3 separate regions of the Homo sapiens genome follow, and all the other regions are linked to region 2. Evidence: promoter capture Hi-C in human tissues and cell types (Jung and others, 2019). All regions are on one chromosome and are shown on one strand. The core of a region is centred on a gene start or on the middle of the fragment in contact, and the rest is flanking DNA. Distances in the headings are between cores, read along the strand shown. Region 1 overlaps UTRN (utrophin). Region 2 holds the start of UTRN (utrophin). Region 3 has its middle 15 kb from the start of TRL-TAA1-1.

Evidence for each region. Contacts are between HindIII fragments. The study calls those that stand out against the background at their distance.
Region 1: a fragment that was not itself captured here is called in contact with the fragment with the promoter of UTRN in region 2 in 3 of the 25 tissues and cell types used here (bladder, pancreas and spleen).
Region 3: a fragment that was not itself captured here is called in contact with the fragment with the promoter of UTRN in region 2 in 1 of the 25 tissues and cell types used here (spleen).

The regions. Positions count from the first base shown.
Region 1 is chr6:144,328,230-144,331,263 of GRCh38, forward strand. All of the region lies in intron 2 of UTRN (utrophin), which reads left to right. Among named protein-coding and RNA genes, the nearest start is that of UTRN, 44 kb to the left of the region's middle. RefSeq lists an enhancer at 2,503-3,034. The HindIII fragment of the contact is 5,071 bases long and covers 1-3,034 here.
Region 2 is chr6:144,283,730-144,286,959 of GRCh38, forward strand. UTRN (utrophin) reads left to right here and starts at 1,606. Exons shown (of 75, transcript NM_007124.3): 1 at 1,606-2,092. LOC124901418 reads left to right here and starts at 2,769. Exons shown (of 1, transcript XM_047419641.1): 1 at 2,769-3,230. The coding sequence starts at 2,942. RefSeq lists an enhancer at 976-1,045 and silencers at 1,176-1,235, 1,446-1,545. The HindIII fragment of the contact is 2,482 bases long and covers 1,323-3,230 here.
Region 3 is chr6:144,230,255-144,233,711 of GRCh38, forward strand. No RefSeq gene overlaps it. Among named protein-coding and RNA genes, the nearest start is that of TRL-TAA1-1, 15 kb to the left of the region's middle. The HindIII fragment of the contact is 8,996 bases long and covers 1-3,457 here.

The DNA.
Region 1 (3,034 bases), core at 448-2,947, 45 kb after region 2:
TATTAAGATATGCGTAGTGCATACACATGGGAGTACCCAGACATGAGTAATTCAAAGGGTTGGTTAGAACTGGGCTTATCTAGCATCTTAACAAAGGAACGATAACTTTTTAGAGAGGTGATGAAACAAAGGAAAATGACTTTAAGCTTCCAGGTGTTACCAGAAGTTTCATCAAATCAAGAATATTCTTAGGAGTGTCAGGGGTGTCTAATAGTTGAGCTGTTAAGTAACTCTTAAACTTGTTAATGTCTCTTGGGAATTTCTTCTTTTAGAGTTGTTTTGTATTAAAACCAAGGAAATAAATATCTTTATTTGTTTTAAAAATAGTATCTTAATTTATTAATTTTGTTTATTTTGCAAAGTCTTTTTAAGGAAATATTATTTCCTTTTACAATGAGTAAAAATACATTCATTCAGAACAAAATATAATTGTTTCTTGGTGCATCAGATGTTTATATCTCATGATAGTGATCTGTTAATAGATCAGGGTTTTTATTCTTTATCTTCATCCCCCCTTCATTGCCCCCATAGACTCCTTTGGCAGTTTAGTGAAGCCAGACAAATTTTTTTTTGAGACAAAGTCTCACTCTGTTGCCCAGCCTGGAGTGCAGTGGTGCGATCTTGGCTCCCTGCAACCTCTGCCTCCCAGGTTCAAGCGATTTTCCTGCCTCAGTCTCCCAAGTAGCTGGGATTACAGTTGCAAGCCACTGTACCCAGCTAATTTTTTGTATTTTTGGTAGAGACGGAGTTACACCATGTTGGCCAGCCTGATCTTGAAGTCCTGACCTCAGGTAATCCCCCTGCCTCGGCCTGCAAAAGTGCTAGGATTACAGGTGTGAGCCACCGCACCTGGCCTTTTTTTTTTTTTTTTGAGATGGAGTCTCACTCTGTCACCCAGGCTGGAGTGTAGGGGGGCGATCTCGGCTCACTGCAACTTCTACCTCTCGGGTTCAAGCGATTCTCCTGCCTCAGACTCCCGAGTAGCTGGGACTACAGGCGCACGCCATCATGCCCAGCTAATTTTTGTATTTTTAGTAAAGACAAGATTTCACCATGTTGGCCAGGATGGTCTCGATCTCTTGACCTTGTGATCCGCCTGCCTCGGCCTCCCAAAGTGCTGGGATTACAGATATGAGGCACCGCACCCAGCCTGACAAATATTTTTAAATGCATAAAATAGAGTACATGGTATTCCATGCATACAGTTACCAAAATACTGAAAAAGTCTGTGAGAGAGTAGTATTTGCTGTTTCATTAGTGTGTTCAGTAAGAACTTCTAGCATCTCTAACCTCTCTACTCTTCTGAAATAACAACGAGCCAAATGGTATTTTCAAGATACCTGCTAGAGTTGTAAGGTGATGTGAAAATGGTTATGATTTTTGCTGGTGACACAGTCAAAGCTACCACTAATAATGTGTTTTGTGATCTGCCATCACAATGGAAGGAAATGCAAATTTCTGTTAGAGGTCAGTGAAAAGATCTAATTGCTTTTCCTGTCCAAGTTCATGGACCCCCTGCCTGGTAATAACCCCTGATAAAGATGATGGCTTAAAATGAGTATTTGTTTCCTTAAACCTCAGCAGTGGCAGCAGTGTGCCACAGAGTGTTTCAAAAGAGACAACAATTTTAAATGGAAAGTAGTCTTGGGTGAATGCCCCATATGGCAGGCACTGCACTGGGTGTAGTTGACAAAACTGATGAGCTCTATGATGGCATCTGGCCTCTTGAGTGTGTAGACTAGTACGAGAACCAGACATCAAATTGCAGAGCATACAAATAGTTGTTTAACTGCTTAGAGGGTAGACATTCTGCAGTGCTGTCATGGCAAATCACTCGGGGACTTCATAGGGACCTGGAATGAGTGATAGTTTGAGTGGTCAGGGAAGGCCTTCTTGAGGAATCTATTCAAGTCCATAGTTCAAGGTGGTGGAGGGCACTGGCTGAAGGCAGAGCTGTGTGCAGGCTCTAAGCTGGCAGAACTTGGCCCACAGAAAGCCTGATTGAGGCCGGTGATTGGGAGTGAAGTGAGCAGAGGGCTGTGGATTAAAATTGGCAGAAAGATGCAGTCTGCATTTCACTCAGTAGTATTTCTTATCCTGATTGAAGGGGCATGGTTTACCTCTTAGTTTGAGGGCATGTATTATTTAGTGCATTAATGGATGGATCCCTAAAAGCATTAGGAATTAGTCTGGAGTATGTAGGTTGAAAAATAGGTTATAAAATTGATGAGAACAAGCTCTCTTGCAAGAGTTAGAAACATAAAAACAAATTTTTCTAAAGCTAAATTCCTTAACATTTTTCCTCACTCAGATTTCTATTTGGCTTGAATCTAAGGAAAACCTGAGAAGAGAGGAAGTGCTTGGCTTCTCTGTATACCAAGCAGTTTCAACAGTGGTGTTTGTAGAAATGCATACCTTGCTGTTCCTAGGCAGATAAGTGTTGTCACACGTCTTCAGATTTTAAGGCGACAGGCTCCACACCTGGCAGAGGCTCAGACAGAGCAGACCAGGATTGGGCTATTCACAGAGGCAGGAATGTGACCATTCTGGTCCGGGCAGTTGGGGAGGAACTCATCTATCCACGGTTCCCATACTGTTTGGCCCTGTTTTTCAATTTGACTCCATCAAAGCACATTCTCCAGCCGAGGGGTACACATCCCTTTGTGACTTCAGAAATCATGCACTGTTGGTTTGGGAGTCTTAACTACATTTGGAGGACACGCTGAGCCGACGAGAAATGGAAGTGAGATCTGAATCCACAAACGGAGACGGCAGACAGTCACAGGCAGGTAAAGACTCATTGAGAATGTGGCTACTTAAATTTTGTCCACCTGTTCATTGAAAGGAAGCCGAGGCATGACTCTCCGCCAATAATTAGTGTGAAAATTACTGAGTTAACAGATTCTAAATTATTTTGTCCTCTGGGTGACCTAGGAAGTTTTTAAAAGACGTTTTTTCTAAATAATGTCATGAAATAAGATAGTTACATGTAAAGAATCTAACAAGGTCAGTCATTAAAAACATTTTCTAAATA
Region 2 (3,230 bases), core at 356-2,855:
CTATGTGACCATACTCAGCTAGCACTTGATCTGTTCTTTTCTTATGGCATTTATCTCCCGGATCTTGTATATACTTACTTGTTTACATGTCTTATCTCACCTACTACATTCCAAGTTCTTTAAGGGTAAGATCACTATCAGATTTATCTTTGCTTTACCCACAGAACCAGCAAACCTGACAGCCCTAAACTGATGCTTGTTAAATGAATGAATGAAGTGAATGAATAAAATCATACCCATTTCAAGTTAATCCTTTGGATTTTATTTGGCTTATACGTAGAAAATCATCAAAAGGAAGGAAACTGTCCTAGAAACCTTACAAGGAAGAGTCTCTTTTGGGAATCTCCTACCTGCCCCCTCCCTGGAGCACTTAGGGATGGATGGGGGAAACTTTCACTATAACAAAAGGCGAGTAAACTCTTTCTGAAAATTAGTTTAAGGCCCCTAGTGGTTTAATCTTTACTGCCGCGTAAATTAACTCAAATATTAAGCCAGCAATAAACCGGCGCTCCAGTATCAACCATCCTTTTCTCTGTTAATACGAACTAGGAACTCAGGTTGCTGTTTTCTTTCCCCTCCCACGTGTGCTGATCGTGTAAAAGAATCACAGGAACACACGAGCAATGAAATGTGTAAATAAGAAAAATGCACACACATCACGAGCTCATTTCTTCCCAGATATTTTTTGGTCAACCTCTCAAGCTTGGAACAGGCTCTATAACAGATGTGCGTTTGTGTGTGCATATTGGAAAACAGAAAAATAAGGTCAGCGCAAACACTACTTGTAATACAAACTAATGTAAGAGAAAACTTCTTTTTCAATATTAACAACGACACTAGAGAAATAATGTAAAATAAATATACGGTTGGAACTAGGGGTAAAAAAAAAATCAGCAACGTCAGCAAACTGAGATGGGGTGAGTTGGAAGGCAGATTGGAATTTATCTCTTAAAAAAATATCACCCTAACTAGAGACCTGTTTTGCCTAAGGGGACGTGACTCACATTTTCGGATAATCTGAATAAGGGGAATTGTGTCTGCTCGAGGCATCCATTCTGGTTCGGTCTCCGGACTCCCGGCTCCCGGCACGCACGGTTCACTCTGGAGCGCGCGCCCCAGGCCAGCCAAGCGCCGAGCCGGGCTGCTGCGGGCTGGGAGGGCGCGCAGGGCCGGCGCTGATTGACGGGGCGCGCAGTCAGGTGACTTGGGGCGCCAAGTTCCCGACGCGGTGGCCGCGGTGACCGCCGAGGCCCGGCAGACGCTGACCCGGGAACGTAGTGGGGCTGATCTTCCGGAACAAAGTTGCTGGGCCGGCGGCGGCGGGGCGAGAGCGCCGAGGGGGAGCCGGAGCGCTGCAGAGGCGCGGGCCGGAGGGCTGGCGCTGATCTGCACCCTTCTCATCTGGAGAGCGGACCCCTGGCTGCCCGGAGGCGAGCCCCTTCCCGGGGGGTGGGGGCGGCAACGCGCGACCCAGCGGTCCTGCGCCCCACCCTCCCTCCTCCGCCTCCAGCGCTCGGCTCCAACAAAGGGGCAGGCCCGCAGCGGGGAGGAGGAGGAGGAGCCGCCGAAGGAGCGAGCCTCTCTCGCGCACAAAGTTGTGGAGTCGTTTTTCCTCGGAGCAGGGAAGCGGGCAGCAGCAGCCGGCCGCGGGCTTTCTCCCGCCGAGGGGCGAGGAGGAGCCTCTGGCTCCAGAAGCCGATTGGGGAATCACGGGGAGCGGCGCCCCCCTTCTTTTGGGTCATTTCTGCAAACGGAAAACTCTGTAGCGTTTGGCAAAGTTGGTGCCTGCGCGCCCCTTCCAGGTTTGCGCTTTGACTGTTTTGTTTTTGGCGGAACTACCAGGCAGGAAGATTGCACAAGTAAGGGGCGTTTTCAGTCGGGTGTCAATTTCTCTTTCTTTCTTTCTTTTTTTAAAATTTCGGTTCGTGTCTGCTTCTCCAAGCTTTATTTTTTTTTTTAAATACATCGCACCACCAAACTAACACTCGCACACACCCCCGCGGTTACTCCGTGTCAAACTCCTAGAGGAGCCCTTGGCCAGCTCGGGGTGCGGCGGTGGCGACCGGCAGGCGAGGAGGCCCGCGGGCAGCAGGTAAGCCCATGCATTATTGAAGCCTCGGGCTGGTAATGTGACTACAGCCCCCGAGGGAATGGGGCGGGGGCCGGGAGGAGGATGGCTCTTTCTGTGGTTCTTCCGCCTGGGATCGGCGTCCCGAGCTGCTTCCCAAGTCCCAGAGTCGAAGATGGGAGTAACTTTTGCGTGCCCTTTCCTCGGGGCCTCAGTTTAGCTCCCCGCGGTGCGAGAGAGAATGCCGGAGGCGTGGAGAGCTCGGGCGTGGAGGTCCTTGGGATCCGTACTAGTTGTGAACGATCCAAACTTATCTGACCAGCTCTGTGCTGCCTCCCTGCTCCCCTAATCTTCCTCCCCGCCGGGGTGACAGAGTCGCCCTCCGTGCATCGCGCGGTGCAGGGCGCTGGGCCAGTGATTTGCAAGAGGGGACGTGGCCTCTTAGGAGAGTCTGTCACAGACACCCGGGCCCGGGGAAGGCGGGGCTCCGGCGGTGTCCACAGGAGAGGGTGGGCAGAGGGTGGCTGTGTGGTCGGCGGCCAGCGGAGCGCTTCCCAGCCAGCCGCCCGGCGGGGAACGTGCTTGACCTCTGGGTGGTTGCTGCTCCCAAGGGTGGGGCTCCGGAGAGTGTGGCGCGATCGCCAAGCTCCCTGGCAGCGGCCCTGGAGAGACTGAGGGGACAGGAGGAGGGGGGCGCCCCATTGGTGTGTAGTCCCGCGCAGTCGCCGGCTCTCCTTTTCCGGACTCTGGGGATCTCTTGCTGCAACTGACAAGGTAATTCATGCCCCGCTTTGGCCCGGGGTCCGAGGCTGTGGTTGCTCAAGGCCACTTAAAAACCAACAAAGCACCAATTGAAGGCTGTGCAACTTTCAGATGGCAGGTTGTTCAAAGGATTTTTTCCTCCAAGCCTCAGATTATGAAAGGGACTCATTCCAGTGCGTTTTTCGAGGAGGAGGGAGAAAACGTTGCCCGACCTCCGAGAGAGCTGTGGGACCAGCACTTTATTTTACAAGGAACTGCAGAGCTCGGGTTCTAACTCCACGGCCCCGCTCTCTGAGGTGTTCAGGACAGGGCCTCCTCTTTCCCAGCCTTCAGGTCAGCCGGATCACCAGGGCCTTGCGGGCCAGTTCCCCCTGCCGCGGTTGGGAGGGTCAGTGCAGCG
Region 3 (3,457 bases), core at 736-3,235, 53 kb before region 2:
CCTGGATTACCAACCTTCAGGCATCCATGAAGGCAGAAATAAACTGTTATTTGGTGAAGGCTTCTTTCACCTGCAGCCAATGTTAATCCAACCTGATATTAATACAAATCAATATAAATATTAGTATTAGTATTAAAAATATAAGAAAGAAGTCACTAACCATCCACTGCATACCAGTGCTTTAGCGTTTTCTTTTTATTACACATCCTGTCAATTCTGCTCTGAAATGCTGGCCTGCAGTTTAAGGAAATTGTCAGATTCCCAACCTGTCTATCTGAATATCAATTATTAGTCTGTTTTTGCACTGCTATGAAGAACTACCCGAGACTGGGTAATTTATAAAGAGAAGAGGTTTCGTTGGCTTATGGTTCCACAGGCTGTATAGGAAGCATGGCAGGGGAGGCCTCGGGAAACTTTCAATCGTAGTGGAAAGCCAAGGGAAGCAGGCACATCTGACATGGCTGGAGCAGGAGAGAAGAGAGAGTGGGGAGGTGCTACACACTTTTAAACAACCAGATCATGTGACAACACACTTATTATCATGAGAACAGCACCAAAACGGACGCCCGCCCCCATGATCCAATCACCTCCCACGAGGCCCAACCACCAACATTGGGGATTACAACTAGACATGAGATTTGGGTGGGGACACAGACCCAAACCATATCAATCAGCTTAGAAGAAAATGTATCTAATTGAAAATACAGCCAATAATATGAACATTATGGTGCCAAGCAGAGCAGACAACAGCTTGTATGTATATTTATTTTTAAGTTTCTTTAGAACATTGAAGGAGCAAAAGAGTTTCTAAAACTGAAGGCTCTGGATCCCTCATTCTCTGCTTCTCCAAAGATCCTCAAATGTATGAGATTAAAACTCGAGAGAGTAATAAGATGGGAGTCATCAATATATAGGTGGCAAAGGAAGCAAAGGCCTGAATACAATTATGCAAGAAGAGAGGATGGTGAGAAGAGGGTCTCTGAGAGTACTACAGAAAGTGCATTTATTTTTGAGATGGAGTCTCACTCTGTCGCTCAGGCTGGAGTGCAGTGGCATCGTGATCTCAGCTTACTGCAATCTCCACCTCCCAGGTTCAGGCGATTCTCGTGCCTCAGCCTCCCAAGTAGTTGGTATTACAGGCATGTGCCACCATGCCCGGCTAATTTTTGTATTTTTAGTAGAGACAGGGTTTCACCATGTTGACCAGGCTGGTCTTGAACTCCTAATCTCAAGTGATCTGCCCACCTCTGCCTCCCAAAATGCTGGGATTACAGGCGTAAGCCACCTTGCCAGGCCAAGAAAGCTCACATTTAAGTGATATTAGATATATCCTTGGATATATCTCTGCACACAAACTAATTTGGCTGGCTTTTGTTTGCATTCCTTGGCAAAGTCAGTTGTAAAGTCAGTTGTTTGATTAGACTTTCCAAGTCCTTTGAAGTAAATTAATACTTGTGTGCAAGCCCAATCTATGTTAGAGAAAAGCAAAACTAGGAAAGCAGCATTTTTTGGAAGGGAAAACCTTCTTTATGTCAGGCTCCACAGTCCTGCCAAAGTCCTTCTTTAGGCGCATCTGGGAAAAGGAAGGGAATCACTAACTCCAATCTTAACCCTGGCTTGAATCTTCACATTGGCCTTGACCCGGGAAGGTATTATCATCTAAGCCACTTTTTCATTTTATCTAGAATTTGTCACTGACACATGAAGAGAGGCTGGAAAATGGGAAGGAATAAAGTTCCTGAGAAACTGACCTGCCGTTTTGGAGCTAGAATCAGAATGGAAATTTGGAACTTGGAAGACTTTCTGTTTTTTTTTCCCTCTGTTTGTATTTTCTATAATTATTTCCTTTTTGTGAATACATGGTATTGTGTAAAGTTCTCTATTCATGTAAAGACAGTTTCTTCTATTTATTTCTGTTTCTCAGTGCCTGGCATTATTGCTTGCTAAATATATTTCACCATTTACTCCAGGCTGAAGCATTGACACCATTTTGTGGCTTCCCCACATCCAACTCCAAGCTGCACTTTTCACAGATAAATCACTGTAATTAATCACGCTCTTGAAAAGGAACAGGAGGTGTAAAAGCCTAACTAATGTGCACCTTTAGCCCACTCCAATGACGCTTTGGAAACCGACTGCTGGAACCCTTAACTTTGGCTCTGTATTTCCAGATCCTCTAGCAGTATGAGATCATTGAGATTGTGGAATGAGCTGGGAAATTTTATTTTTCAAAAGCAACCAACCATACCTGTATATTTGTAAGGATTTTTATGGAGTCCTGCAATGTCAATCCTTAGGCTTGGCTAGTTCATCAACAAACTCAGAAACAAACTGAAAACTAGAGGCTTGGAATTCAGACAGAACTTTCAAAGCCAGGGCTAGAGATGTTTGTATTAGGTTGCTTTGGTTTATTTTTAGAAGGCAACTGTTTTCTCACGAGCAATTTTCTTAGGTAGCTTAAAATACAATCATAGCCACAAATTTGAATCCTCTTTCCTTGAAAAAAGGGGGGAAAAAGAAAAGGAAGATTGCTAAAAATTATTTCCTATTCTAGTATGAGGTAGAAAGAGCTTTCTAATTTTTTTTTTTCCTCAGGTAGATGAACAAAAAATGCCCCACATAAGTACCTTGAATTGACTTTGTAAGGATAAAGGCAATCACTGTTTATGCTTAGGAAATGTATCGCATTGGGACCTTAATGTTGAGTACAACCTCTTACTCCACCATAGTTGCCAAGTTTTGCTAAATTTTTTTTCTGCTGCAAAAGTTTATTGTTTCATTGCCGGGGAGCACCTCCCAGGCCCTGGGGAAAAAGCCTTGGTTCTCACAAGTGGTTCATATTTTAATCCACTTTATTCCTGCCCTTTCTATTTTAAATGTTTTCAAAATGAAATCTCCAAATTGCATTCTATACAAGGAAATCTTGGTGGAAAATACTAGGGTATAACTCATTCTCACATAAGCAATTGTTTTAGATAATTAAAAAAAATCCTTCTTTCTCACAAGAAGAAGCTGAGAAAACAATTTCAAGAATTCCCACTCACTGAAAGCCAGTTTTCTGAAAGCTAACTTATAGAATAATCTGACATATCAGATTTACATGAATTTACAAAATTTGCTAATAGTGAATTTAATAAGAATGTTAAATTCACTATGGGCTTTCACAAGATGTTCAACTTTTCAAAATTTCAGCATCTCCTATGGGAATCCTTTAGTCCATATTTTCTTCTTAATATAGAAGATCATTTTAGCTAAATTCTGATTTACTTTTAGATGGTCTTAAACTTAAAATCTAAAGCTGATAGAACTATGAAAATATTCCTGATAGGGCTAATAAATATGTAAGTAAAATTGATAAACCTGATAAGTTGGTCATTTGGCAAATTTGCTTGGTGTAAACTTGATGGGTGGTGACTGAACAAGACTTTGCCCCATTACATGGTGTAGTGTGTACACT